Linked DNA regions of Homo sapiens: region 1 is linked to region 2. The links are contacts of gene promoters, found by promoter capture Hi-C in human tissues and cell types (Jung and others, 2019). All regions are on one chromosome and are shown on one strand. The core of a region is centred on a gene start or on the middle of the fragment in contact, and the rest is flanking DNA. Distances in the headings are between cores, read along the strand shown.

The links. The method cuts DNA at HindIII sites, captures the fragments that hold promoters and counts their contacts. A contact is called where the count stands out against the background at its distance.
Region 1: a contact is called between a fragment that was not itself captured here and the fragment with the promoter of THAP9 in region 2, in 1 of the 25 tissues and cell types used here (hippocampus).

What each region holds. Positions count from the first base shown.
Region 1 is chr4:83,176,941-83,184,278 of GRCh38, forward strand. All of the region lies in intron 4 of LOC124900167 (a long non-coding RNA gene), which reads right to left. Among named protein-coding and RNA genes, the nearest start is that of PLAC8, 66 kb to the left of the region's middle. RefSeq lists an enhancer at 4,165-4,740. The HindIII fragment of the contact is 8,357 bases long and covers 1-7,338 here.
Region 2 is chr4:82,895,528-82,901,984 of GRCh38, forward strand. It overlaps THAP9 (THAP domain containing 9), which reads left to right and starts at 5,208. Exons shown (of 5, transcript NM_024672.6): 1 at 5,208-5,355. The coding sequence starts at 5,276. THAP9-AS1 (THAP9 antisense RNA 1) reads right to left here and starts at 5,389. Exons shown (of 4, transcript NR_034077.1): 1 at 4,807-5,389; 2 at 4,550-4,696; 3 at 165-247. SNORD143 (small nucleolar RNA, C/D box 143) reads right to left here and starts at 401; the gene lies at 326-401. It overlaps SNORD144 (small nucleolar RNA, C/D box 144), which reads right to left and starts at 2,698; the gene lies at 2,613-2,698. It also overlaps a transcript of SEC31A not described here. RefSeq lists enhancers at 4,653-5,172, 4,788-4,907, 5,173-5,692 and a silencer at 5,218-5,567. The HindIII fragment of the contact is 5,539 bases long and covers 1,675-6,457 here.

The DNA.
Region 1 (7,338 bases), core at 2,006-4,505, 280 kb after region 2:
GTAATGTAACTTCCTAGTCAATGCTGTAAAGATAAAAGAATTGCAATATGGAACCTTAGATATTATAATAAGTTGATCTTCTAAAAATACTAATTGGCCCTATTCTGCTTCTGAACCATTTGATCTGGTTGTAGAGATTGAGTGAGTGATCTGGAATTGGTATTTTTAAGGCTTCCCAGGTAATTACAAAGTGCAGCCAGGGTTGAGAATCACCACATTAAAGGAAATGATGATTTTTGAGTATTGAATTAGTCCAACTTGAGTCTTTTATACAATAATAAAATACATTTCCTCTCAACTTCAAACTTCATGTACCACTTAAATTTTCTCCCCAAACACGTATAATTTAAAAAAATTAAGCCAAGGGGAACACTCATTCTATGGCATAGAATGAGGTGTTGCTTGGTTCTAAAAATGAATGAATGAATGAATGAATGAATGAATAATATGCTCAATGAAGAAAATCTGAGAATTACCAAAATATCAAAACAAAAAACCTCTAGCAATTCCACCATACAAAGCTTAACTACTTGTGACATTTTCAATGTATGTCTTTCCATTTAATCCATTAAAACAGTAATTAGTGTGTAGGACCAGTTTTTAATGAGGATATTCCCAATTGAGGCAATAAAACCATTTCTCCTGCAATGTGGAGAAGGCTGCTTTCCTTTCTGTTTGTTTTACATGGAGAGCAAGCATTCATCTCTTTTAAAACTGGTATCCAATTATGCTGTAGCTCAGAATTACCTAATTAGTTGAGATGCCCCCACCATGACTCTTGAGTTTGTGTGACAGGGTAGAGTCTGTCTAAGAAAGTCAAGAGTTTGAGTTCATCCCAAGGGCTGAAATACTATTGGTTTAATGAATGAATCTTTGAGTTACCTTAAAAGTCCCAATTTATATGCAGATATCCTAAAAGCCCTCGACTAAAAGTAGGTTTCTTACCTAGGCAATGACTTACTTCCCCAGACTCACGTTTTGCCTTTATTCTGTTTCTTCACATCTTTCTTGGAACTATTTGTCTCCAATAGGAGCTAAACAGAGAGGAATCCCAAAAGGAGAAGAGGGTACCCACCAGCCCCCAGAATTGCAGAGGGCTCAGCTCTAACCATGCTTAGCATGTCTGGTATCTGGCCATGTTCAGAGAATAGTCCTTTAGATGTCTCACATTTAACATCTTGGCTAAAAGAGCCAGAACACCTGTAAAGTGCAGCACTGTATTTTAAATCTCGCTGTGACTCAAATGTGAATTGGAATTGCCTGTTCTTCAAATAATGTGGGCTGAAGATCACTTAGCTGGTGAGAATCCAGCTAACAGCTGCATTCACTTTGGTACAAAATGACTCAAAGGGACTTGGTTGGCCAGGCACAGTGGCTCACACCTGTAATCCCAGCAATTTGGGAGGCCGGGGTGGGAGGATTGCTTGAGCCAAGGATGTTCAAGACCAGCCTGGGCAAGATGGCAAGATCTCATCTCTAAATAAATAAATAAATAAATAATTTTTTAAAAAGGGACTTGGTCAATTTTTTTTCTTTTCTTTTTTTTTTTTTTTTTTTTTGAGATGGAGTCTCACTCTGTCCCCCAGGCTGGAGTGCAGTGGCACAATCTTGGCTTACTGCAAACTCTGCCTTCCAGGTTCATGCCATTCTCCTGCCTCAGCCTCCCGAGTGGCTGGGACTACAGGCGCCCGCCACCACGCCCGGCTAATTTTTTGTATTTTCAGTAGAAACGGGGTTTCACCGTGTTAGCCAGGATGGTCTCGATCTCCTGACCTCGTGATCTGCCCGCCTTGGCCTCCCAAAGTGCTGGGATTACAGGCGTGAGCCACCGCGCCCTGCCTTTTGTTTCTTTTTTTAACTTTTTCAGTGAAAAGTCAACTTTGTTAAATTATTTTAAATTTTGTTTTGCTGTAGATAGGGGAAAGGGTTCCTTTCAAAATGCCAACAACTTGTACTAGGGATGGAAGTCAAGAGAGCTAAGATAGCCTCAGCCATAAAACTGGTGGTAAAAATTTACAGAATGTTGAATTTGGGTGGTGTTTATAATCTATAACTCTAACAAGTCCCAATCTAATATTTTATAAGAAGACTACAAAACTGTTCAGTGAGTGCTCTAGCCAGTATAAATGGATCTCAAAACTTCAATAAACATGCAATTATCTTGTGGCTGTGAAACAGATGTTGATAAATTTCCTTTAGGAAAAGGGCAGCATCCTAGGCAAACACTTGATTATGAAATATTTCTTTTTCCCAAAAGCCTCCAGATGCATTCTTCCCAAACATGGTGTATATTTGGGAAGAGACAGCCATTAAGTGTCTTTGTCTCTGACTTCATTGCCCCACATTTGTCTCTGTCTTCACTCCCCCAAGGAAAACCTGTGTGTTTCCACACAGTGTTACATGCTAACTGCTCAATACAACTGATGGCCACTTCTCAAGTGTCTGCCCAGTCCTCAGGGATTCCTCTGAGTTTTATGAATACCTTCAAGTGCTCTTAGCGTTGTTCTTAGGGGTTAGGTTGTTCTTAGGGTTGGATTTCCCAGGTAACGGAAGCACAGCCTTAGGACACTCAAAAAGCTAGGGCAATAAAATAAAATAAAAATGTGGAAAAATATGTAGCTCCTCCCTCCTCAAGTAAATGTCATCTTTAAGGAAAGTAATCACAATTATATTGGACTTCTTTACACTTATTTACTTATTTACATATGGAAAGTTATAGATGGGTAGCACATCACACAGTGTTCAGTGTGTTTAAGGCTTCTAAAGACATTTGCCTGGTCCTAGTTTTATCTATCTATCTATCTATCTATATCTATATATAGATATATAGATATAGATATAGATATAGATATTTTTTTTTTTGAGATGGAGTCTCGCTCTGTCGCCCAGGCTGGAGTGCAGTGGCACGATCTCGGCTCACTGCAAGCTCTGCCTCCCAGGTTCACGCCATTCTCCTGCCTCAGCCTCCCGAGTAGCTAGGACTACAGGCACCCGCCACCACACCTGGCTAATTTTTTGTATTTTTAATAGGAATGGGGTTTCATCGTGTTAGCCAGGATGTTCTCAATCTCCTGATCTCATGATCTGCCTGCCTCGGCCTCCCAAAGCGCTGGGATTACAGGCGTGAGCCACCGCGCCTGGCTGGTCCTGGTTATATTTTAAGGTCAGTTGTTTTCAGGTCTCTTCCCACTACCCGAGTCTGAGCTACACAGGTACTGGCCAGTCATCTTTTAATCCTACCACAGCACCTGGAGCACAGTAGATGCTCAATGAGCAATTTTTTTTTAAATAAGTGAATGAACAAATGTTTGAAGACAGAACTGTGTGTCTCATGTACACAATTTAGGGGTCTCTATTTTAGACATCTAGACATCAGAAATATTACCTCCGAACCCTGTCCACTTCCCCTAATCAACTATCTTTAAGTGATGTGTTTGCCTTAAAGACTAGGAAGAGGGAGGAAAAAAAGAAGCTTCCCTTTTCCCCTTTTCTTAAATCATGCAAATGAGAAAGGCTAATCCTTCCCTCTAGAGTGAAAATACTGAAAGCTACTTTGGTAATTGTTAGGGACAAGCTACCCCAGGAATCCCCCCAACTTCCCCTTACCCTGAATACTCTGCAGCTGCCTTCCTAAACACTTATCTGGGTGCCACAGCAAAGTTACCAGACATGCTAAGTGGAGCAAACCCTAATTACAGCCATTTGGGCAGCACCGGGGAAGTCGTGGGAAATGTGAACAAACCTTAGTTACACATTCTTGTAAATTCCTGTTTTTCATCTAACTGCCACCTTAAAAGTCAGGGAATGACGTGTTATAAGTCTATTACAAGCTGATGAACTACCTTTGTGCCTGTTACAAGCTAATAGATACTCTTAGCGGTAAAGATAACCGACAAACAACCCCAGGATGCGGTTATACCCAGAAACTCCCTTAAGCCCCTCCGACCCCATATAAACTCCTCATTCTGTGAGTTCAGGGCTGCCTCCTTTGACTGTTAAGGAGCAGCCCAGCAGGTTAATAAACTTGCTTGACTTAGGTCTACTCATCCTTTCTCTCGGCTAGCCTTACAGTAATATTGCCAGTAATAAGAAGGCTACAAATCAGCTAAGAAAACAAGTGGTCAGATGGTAATGATTTCAAAATTGTGTTTGTTATATAAAAACATATATAGAATTAACTTCTGACAACAAAATGGTAATAAACTTCAAAATGACTGAAACAGAAATTATGCCTCCTCCCAGCAAAACTGATGCCAGTAGCAAATCTTGAAACGAATTACAAAATAAGTTTACAAAATAAACTTTCTAGAGGGAATTTGTAATATTCTGTTTAAATACACCACTCTTACTGGTGATACAATGATTTCTTCTTTAATGATTAAAAAAATTGTCTCTTAGGGAAAAAAATGGATCTTGTAACAGCACTTTTTAAAAAGTCACGATACTCACAGGCTCTTAAGAATCACTACTGCCAAAAAAAAAAAAATCTGAATTCCTGCTCTGCCTCTGCCTCTCCCCTCTCCCCTCTCCCCTCTCCCTCTCGGTCTCCCTCTCCCTCTCTTTCCATGGTCTCCCTCTGATGCCGAGCCGAAGCTGGACTGTACTGCTGCCATCTCGGCTCACTGCAACCTCCCTGCCTGATTCTCCTGCCTCAGCCGGCCGAGTGCCTGCGATTGCAGGCGCGCGCCACCACGCCTGACTGGTTTTCGTACTTTTTTGGTGGAGACGGGGTTTCGCTGTGTTGGCCGGGCTGGTCTCCAGCTCCTAACCGCGAGTGATCCGCCAGCCTTGGCCTCCCGAGGTGCCGGGATTGCAGACGGAGTCTGGTTCACTCAGTGCTCAATGGTGCCCAGGCTGGAGTGCAGTGGTGTGATCTCAGCTCGCTACAACCTCCATCTCCCAGCCGCCTGCCTTGGCCTCCCAAAGTGCCGAGATTGCAGCCTCTGCCCGGCCACCACCCCGTCTGGGAAGTGAGGAGCGTCTCTGCCTGGCCGCCCATCGTCTGGGACGTGAGGAGCCCCTCTGCCTGGCTGCCCAGTCTAGAAAGTGAGGAGCGTCTCTGCCCGGCCGCCATCCCATCTAGGAAGTGAGGAGCGCCTCTTCCCGGCAGCCATCCCATCTGGGAAGTGAGGAGCGTCTCTGCCCGGCCGCCCATCGTCTGAGATGTGGGGAGCGCCTCTGCCCCGCCGCCCCGTCTGGGATGTGAGGAGCGCCTCTGCCCGGCCGCGACCCTGTCTGGGAGGTGAGGAGCGTCTCTGCCCAGCTGCCCCGTCTGAGAAGTGAGGAGTCCCTCCGCCCAGCATCCGCCCCATCTGAGAAGTGAGGAGCCCCTCCGCCCGGCAGCCGCCCCGTCTGAGAAATGAGGAGCTCCTCTGCCCGGCAGCCACCCCGTCTGGGAAGTGAGGAGCGTCTCCGCCCGGCAGCCGCCCCGTCCGGGAGGGAGGTGGGGGGCTCAGGCGCCCTGCCAGCCGCCCCATCCGGGAGGGAGGTGGGGGGGTCAGCCCCCCGCCCGGCCAGCCGCCCCATCCGGGAGGGAGGTGGGGGGGTCAGCCCCCCGCCCGGCCAGCCGCCCCGTCCGGGAGGTGAGGGGCGCCTCTGCCCAGCCGCCCCTACTGGGAAGTGAGGAGCCCCTCTGCCTGGCCAGCCGCCCCGTCCGGGAGGGAAGTGGGGGGGTCAGCCCCCCGCCCGGCCAGCCGCCCCGTCCGGGAGGGAGGTGGGGGGGTCAGCCCCACGTCCGGGAGGGAGGTGGGGGGGTCAGCCCCCCGCCCGGCCAGCCGCCCTGTCCAGGAGGGAGGTGGGGGGGTCAGCCCCCCGCCCGGCCAGCTGCCCCGTCCGGGAGGTGAGGGGCGCCTCTGCCCGGCCACCCCTACTAGGAAGTGAGGAGCCCCTCTGCCCAGCCACCACCTCATCTGCGAGGTGTACCCAACAGCTCATTGAGAACGGGCCGGGATGACAATGGCGGTTTTGTGGAATAGAAAGGGGGAAAAGGTGGGGAAAAGATTGAGAAATCGGATGGTTGCCGTGTCTGTGTAGAAAGAAGTAGACATGGGAGACTTTTCATTTTGTTCTGTACTAAGATAAATTCTTCTGCCTTGGGATCCTGTTGATCGGTGACCTTACCCCCAACCCTGTGCTCTCTGAAACATGTGCTGTGTCCACTCAGGGTTAAATGGATTAAGGGCGGTGCAAGATGTGCTTTGTTAAACAGATGCTTGAAGGCAGCATGCTCATTAAGAATCATCACCACTCCCTAATCTCAAGTACCCAGGGACACAAACACTGCGGAAGGCCGCAGGGTCCTCTGCCTAGGAAAACCAGAGACCTTTGTTCACTTGTTTATCTGCTGACCTTCCCTCCACTATTGTCCTATGACCCTGCCAAATCCCCCTCTGCGAGAAACACCCAAGAATGATCAATAAAAAAAATAAAAATTTAAAAAAAAAAAAAAAAGAATCACTACTGCCAAATTTAATTTAAAAGACAATTCATGTTGCAGACCTGTGGGTTTTTAAAAGATTCATCTAGGGAAATAATTAACACCTAGCACTCAATTCTTCCTTGGCTGTGTTAGTTACATAGTAAAATTTTACTTGTGCCATAGTATATTACTTTGTTTAAATAATTAACATAAATCTGTATTCAAGAGTACTTGTCAGAGTTTTTCCCATGAATCTGCTTGAAGAAAAAGCAACTTGTGGTGGGGGACTGCAGTGATCCAGGTGCTTTTGGACAAGAATCAAAACAATACTGTGGATAACAAGGGCAGAATGGCCATGGTTAAAAATTTGATGAGAGTTCATTATAACCAGCATGTGACAAGGAAATTTGATTCTTTCTGTGGTATACAATACTTTAACATAATAACCCAAATTATGACTGATGACATGTTAGATTTCTAGCAATCTCATATTAATTTTTGGAGCACTCATATCAATAACATACCCATAAATATAACTTGAAGGTTTAACATCACTTACTCATTGACAATCAATGCTTCTCATGTAATTTAACATATCAAATACGCTTAATTAGTTTTATATCAGTCTTTTACAAGGCAATAGAAACATCTCTTGCAACTTTCCAGGGGTCCAACAGAAAAATCTCAAAATTAATTTGAGATTGAAACAACTTAATTTAAGATTTGATTTTGGGAAGTTTGTAAAAAATGTCAAAAGACTTAACAATTAAAAATGATCTTGGCTATCTATTTCATCAAAGTGACAGCAGAAAAATTTAAAGGCAAATACAGAAAGTTACATGGTTCTGAACAAACTTAGCTCTTTTAATATTGAGAAGTCTCACTTTTCTTAAGTAATCAAAGATCCAACAGAAAATAAC
Region 2 (6,457 bases), core at 3,958-6,457:
ACTATTTTGAAATAATACTTATCTTTAAAAGCTGGAAGAGTAAGGAAAAGAAATTTTTAATTCAGAGTACAGTATCCACATTAGGCTGAAATAAATGTCAATTTTCTGCTCATACCTGACCTTTTCTGTGTTCTTTTATCAAAATAAATGTGTAAGTCCCATACCTTATTATATAAATCTTCAACTTCTTGATCAAATAAATATGACAAATGATGTTCTCTAAGAAAAACACCCTTCAATTTTATTCCTAAAACGAAAAACATTCAAAGGAACTCATTGTGCAGAAACACAATATATACAAGTCTCATCATTTTCTTTTTCTATTATGTCCTCATCCACATACATTAATCACAACAAATCATGATGTGAACAGCAGTGGAAAAAATTTAATCATTGGACATTTATTTCTTGAACTTCAGCTCTAGTTGTAAGATTCTCATTGCTTAGCTCTTTAAAACAAATGCATATATTTATCTAATGTAGAACAGTTAAGACCTCCAATTTTACTATAATTGGGAAAAAAACTCAGAACAAAGATTATGTCAAGTGTATCACTGTATTGACTTTGTTAACCTGCTATACATCTGACACAAGGGTAGGTGTTCAACAAGTGAAATACCAATCCTAAAAAGCCAGAAGTCTGTATCTGCTTTCATAGGGTTATTATGAGAAATAAATATTGTTTAACAGAACCAACTCTTTCTTTTTTGAGACAGAGTCTTGCTCTGTCACCCAGGCTGGAGTGCAGTGGCCAATCTTGGCCCACTGCAACCTCCACCTCCTGGGTTCAAGTGGTTCTCCTGCCTTGGCCTCCCAAGTAGCTGGGGTTACAGGTGCGTGCCACCATGCCCGGCTAATTTTTGTATTTTTAGTAGAGACGGAGTTTCGCCATGTTGGCCAGGCTGGTCTTGAACTCCTGAGCTCAGGTGATTCACCTGCCTTAGCCTTTCAAAGTGCTGGGATTACAGGTGCGAGCCACCATGCCTGGCCAAGAAAACCAACTCTTTCTATACACTATATATAAAAATCTTAGCAGCCTGGGCAACACGGCAAAACCCCTTCTCTACCAAAAATACAAAAAATTAGCCAGGTGTGGTGGCACACGCCTGCAGTTCCAGCTACTTAGAGAAGCTAATTGGAACTAGAGTATGGCTAGAAATTAGGTATTCCTACTCATATAATTTTCCTTGGGGTGATACTAACTTGGAAAGTTGAACTTTCTAAGAATTTTTCAAGGAATATTGTCCAATTTCTTCTGTGCAGTTATACAAATATTTGCTATAGGATGGAGTAAAGGTACAGATGTACAGCATCATTGAAGGAGTTTGACCTTTTTCCCCAAAGCTTGATTTTTATCCACTATGATGAATACATTTTACTAAATACTTGCTACTCTTTTCCTTCTGCTGCTTCCACCCCCACCTCCCACAGGCTTCTACTCCTCATCAGCAAAATATAGACCTTGTCAAGCAATCAGAATGTTCCTAATTGGCAGAACACTAATTCGTGCCTGAGATTTATAATCTTTTGAGTCTTCTTGTTTTCCTTTCATCACTGCTCAAAAGTTCTATTAGAAGAAAAAACACTCCCCCTTTTCCTTTAAGTCCTAGCACTGCTTCTGATATTTGGAAACCACTTGTCTAATAACAGAAGCATTACGTATAAAACAAAGCATAACTAGTTTTGGAGCGTATTAGGGTGTAGCTGCCCCTCCATATCAGGCTTGATGCTGAGAAGACACTTCCAAGTTAGCATGAGATTCTAGAAGTAGAAATAATTATGTAACAAATAATGATATAACAATAATTTCAAAACTCCATGGCTTTCTGAAACAAAAGACAGAACTCAAACAATGAAAAATTCGGCAACACAAAAGGGTAGGTCCTCAACAAGCAAGATACCAACCCTAGAAAGCAAGAAGTCTATACCTGCTTTCATAGAGTTATTATGAGAAATAAATATTGTTTAAGAAAACCAACTCTTTCTATATACTGTATATAAAAAGCTTAGCAGCCTGGGCAACATGGTAAAACCCTGTCTCTACCAAATATACAAAAAAAAATTAGCCAGGTGTAGTGGTACATGCATGTGGTCCCAGCTACTTAGGAAGCTGAGGTGGGAAGATTGCTTGGGCCTGGAAGACAGAGGTTGCAATAAGCTGAGATTGCGCCACTGCACTCCAGCCTGGGTGACAGAGTGAGACCCCATCTCAAAAAATAAAATAAAATGAAATGAAATTAAAAAAAGCTCAGCATAATTTGTGGCCCATAGTAACTGGCCAATAAATAAATATCTGTTATTATTCTTTCCAAGTGGACAATTAATGAGATTATATACCATAAAATAGGTAGATTTCATTAAAGCCTTAATAAATGTTTTTTACTTGGACAATCCTCCATTTCCAACTCACTGCTATAGTTCCAGGAATACTTAATACATTTAAAATAGAAAGATATACTACCTTCCCTGCATATTTTGAGTAATTATCTTCCAAGACCCATGTATCTTTTCTCAACATCTCTGAGAGTACAATTCCTGAAAAGAGATATTTTCTTTTAAAATTTTTTGTGCAATAGTCAATGCCTTTGCAAATAACACTATCTTTAATACAGCTTACATATCCTCATTTAAGTATTCAATAATCACAACGGTTCATTATGTGAACAGCAGTGAAAAGGTTTAATCACTGGATATGAAGTTACTAGAAGAAGCAATGATATAACCAAATGATCAGATTGAGAACTTCCATGTCAACAGTAAAATAATCACAACAACAAAAAAAGTATAGATAAGTTATAAACAAATGTAAAGATACAAAAATACAACTAAGAAAAAAAAATTCCATCTATAAAGGATTACTTATTTCCTATGCAGAAGTAAATATCTAGAGCAGTGACCCCTTGCGGCTATTGCCTTCATTTAAGTAAATCTGTTCTGATAAAAGCAGTTTTCAGAAATTCATCTGAAATTAACAATTAAAGGAATGTTGTCAGAATAATGTAGGAAGCACACTATTTCATCTTTAGGAAAGGCAAATAGTTGCAATCCAATTAAACAGGAAAGAAAACAGCCCTCATTTCAGATGATGAACTGGCAGCAGTACTTTCAACTCTACCTTAAGAAAATGGCAAGTGAATGCCTGTATCTGCAAACTTTTGAGTCCTTAAGAAAAGGCAAACACCACGATGAGACAGCCACTTCACATGCACAAAAATGTGGAGAAACTGGCAGCCTCATCCACTGCTGGTGGGAATGTAAAATGGTGCAGCCACTAGGGAAAATAATCTGGCACTTCCTCAAGAAGCTAAACACAGTTATCTTATGACTCACCAATTCCACTCTTAGGTGTGTAATCAGGAAAATGAAAACATTTGTCCACACAAAAACTTGTACACAAATGTTCATAATAGTAAAAAAAAAAATTGGAAAACCCAAATGTCCACCAACTGTTGAACGGATAAACAAAATCTGCTACATCCATAAAATGGAGTACGATTCAGCAATAAAAAATAAAGTACTGATACGTGCTATAAGATGGATGAACTCTGAAAACATTCCAAGTGAAAGAAGCCAGTCACAAAGACCATATATTAGTTCATAATTCCACTTACATGAAGTGTACAGAGCAGGCAGAGGCACACGGAAACTAAATTAGTGTTTGCTGAGCGGGGTGGGGGAATATTTGGAGGTGCTGCTAGTAAGAATGAGGTTTCTTTCTGGAGTGATGAAAATGTTCTAATATTGATTGTGACTGTTCCACAATTCTGTGCATATACTAAAACCCACTGAATTGTACACTTTAAACCAATTAGTTGTGTGGTATGAGAATTATATCTGAGTAAAACTGTTACAAAAATATAAGGCAACTAATTTTTTCCTTAAAGATAGCTAAAAACAATGTTATTTTTATTCAGCCTCACTCGGGTCTTAATTGGTTGAGCAGGAAAAGGCTCTAACAGCCCAACCAACTTACAGTATTTAAATCCAGTTCTTACTCTCTGCACACACCTTACAGCCAAAAAGTATTTGCCCTGCACATCCCCCAGGGACCAATTTTTCCAAAGTTCCTTGACCATCTATCCTTAGGCCATGTGACTTTTAAGGAACCATAACCAAAAGCTATTAATTCCATTCAGAGAAGATACAAGCATATTATAATGGAAAACTGGTGTGAATAAGTAATACCTTAATATGTATCTTCGGCTGTAATCTGGACAAAGTAAACACAAAGGGGAAAAAGAAGCAATCTTGTTAGGCCTGGATATTTGGAATTATTTTTGTGTGCTATACAAAGAAACGGAAAAGTTGCAAACCCTTCTCTGTTTTCTGTATGCTAAGGATCTCCTTCTCAGAGACAAAAACCCACTGGCCCGTTTCCTTCTCTAAGCAAATTGAAATCTCTTCCTCAAACATAAGAGCTTATAACTAAGACATTGTTCTAAGCTCTATCTCCTGAAAGCTATTCATAATGCCTCATTCCCAACCAAAACCACTTAATTGCCCCTTGTCCCCTGCCCCTATTACTACTGAGGAGCCCCAAGAACCTTACCTTATTTCCTTCATTGTGGCAAAGTGTTTCAGAAAAGGGTTCCTTGAATTAAAAGTCGGCGTATCCTATTTGACTCCTGCTCCTCCGGTATCACATACCTACAGCCAACCATGCCAAGAGCTTCCCCATTATCTCCGCATCGGAGAGCTACAAGATAAAGCGCAAGAACACGACACGCATCTCAGTAAATCATATATTTTTGGCCCGACTCTGTCTTCAACACACCTAAGGCACCGTGTTTTATCCCTCTTCCATACCCTTTCCTCCCGATATCCTCCAGTTTCAGAGACCGCACCCGGAGACCCATTGGCAGGTTCCTGGATTCGCCTCAATTTTGGTCCTGCCTCTCTGCTTCGCATTTTCAGGCTTGGCCTCACAAGAAGGACGATGGCGCCAGATTGTGCCAGAATGGGTGAAAACAGAAGGAAAATAAACCGGTTGCAGCAAAACCCACTATTCCGCCTCCAACGCGGAGGGAGGAGCGGTCAAATGCACGTCTTCAGGCTCAGGCCCTTCCGATTGGCTGCTGGGACACAACGTGGCCTGTCATTGGCTACGGCACCGGCGCAGGGCCTTCGGAGAGGAAGTGTGGAAGTCCCGCGCCTCTAAAGCCCGCCTTTCGTGACAAATAAAGGTCGTAGCCGCAGAGTCAACGGGCGGAGCTAAAGTGGTCGTGATTCATGCTGTCGCGGGAACCCCGAAGGTGGGGCCCCACGTAACAAGAAGATGACCCGAAGTTGCTCCGCAGTGGGCTGCAGCACCCGTGACACCGTGCTCAGCCGGGAGCGCGGCCTCTCCTTCCACCAGTGCGTATGGGAGCAGCCTCGAAGCCTTCGAACTCCCTGCGGGGCCCGGCGGGCCGTGGCGTGGCGTGGGGCGGGGCCGGGCCGCACTGTGGGTCGCGCCGCGTGTGTGACGCGACGTGACGTGCGCAGCGTCGGGGCGTGGGAGCGGAATTGGGGCACTGTGAGAATTGAGATTCTCTCTCTTCCCGCCCAGTGTTTACCTCTGAATAGCCGGTTCTCGCACCGCCTACCGCTTTAAGGAGAGTTACGCGAAAGGAGTCCTCCATTAATTGGATGGTCTTATTATTTGAAGTGAGGAGGCCGAAAGGGAAGGCAGTTTAGGACAACGGTTGAAGTGTGTGTGTGGCGTCTTCCTGAGCACGAGTACAGATCAGTTTTCTCCTGTACTGCCTGACATTGCAAGTTCTTAAGTGCTGTTAGCCGAGCTGTGCAAGGCCGGTCCGATTCTGGCTGGATTTGATCATGGCAGGGAAGTTTCATTTGGCTCGACAGTGGGGAAGAATTTCAGATCAGTCTTATCTGAACTCATATCCATGGTTCAGACTGGTATAGGTCATTCAGTATTCAGGGTACACTAGCAAGTAGAAAAGTGGGTAAAATAGATCCTCACAGACAAAAGGAGCAGATTTATGGAAAGATCAAAAAGAACTTTATGGTTGGAAAGGGGGGGTAGGAAGAGGGTAGTTAGGAATGGCATGGGAAAATGTAAAGGATAGAAAGTGCAAATATAGAGGAGTGGAAAAGTACCTGAGAAACCATTTTAAAAATGTAAATGCCAGGTTAAGGAGTTTAGAGTATGTATGGTAGGCTATGTATAAAATTCATTGATTTTTTTTTTTTTTTGTTTTCTATTTTTTAAATAGGGCTGATTCCTCCACCTAAATTGTTAGCAGTGTGAACCAACTCATTGTGTATGTGAGACCATAATTGATTTGGGATTTTTCTTGTGATAGAGGTAGTTTTAAACTAGGGAGACATGAATTCCAATTTTAATTGAGTATTTACTGATGTCTGTACTTGGCTCTGGGTCTTGGTTTCTTCTTCTGTAAGAGGAATAAAAACCTGCCTTGTAGAATTTTGTAAAACTAAAACGTAAGACTTT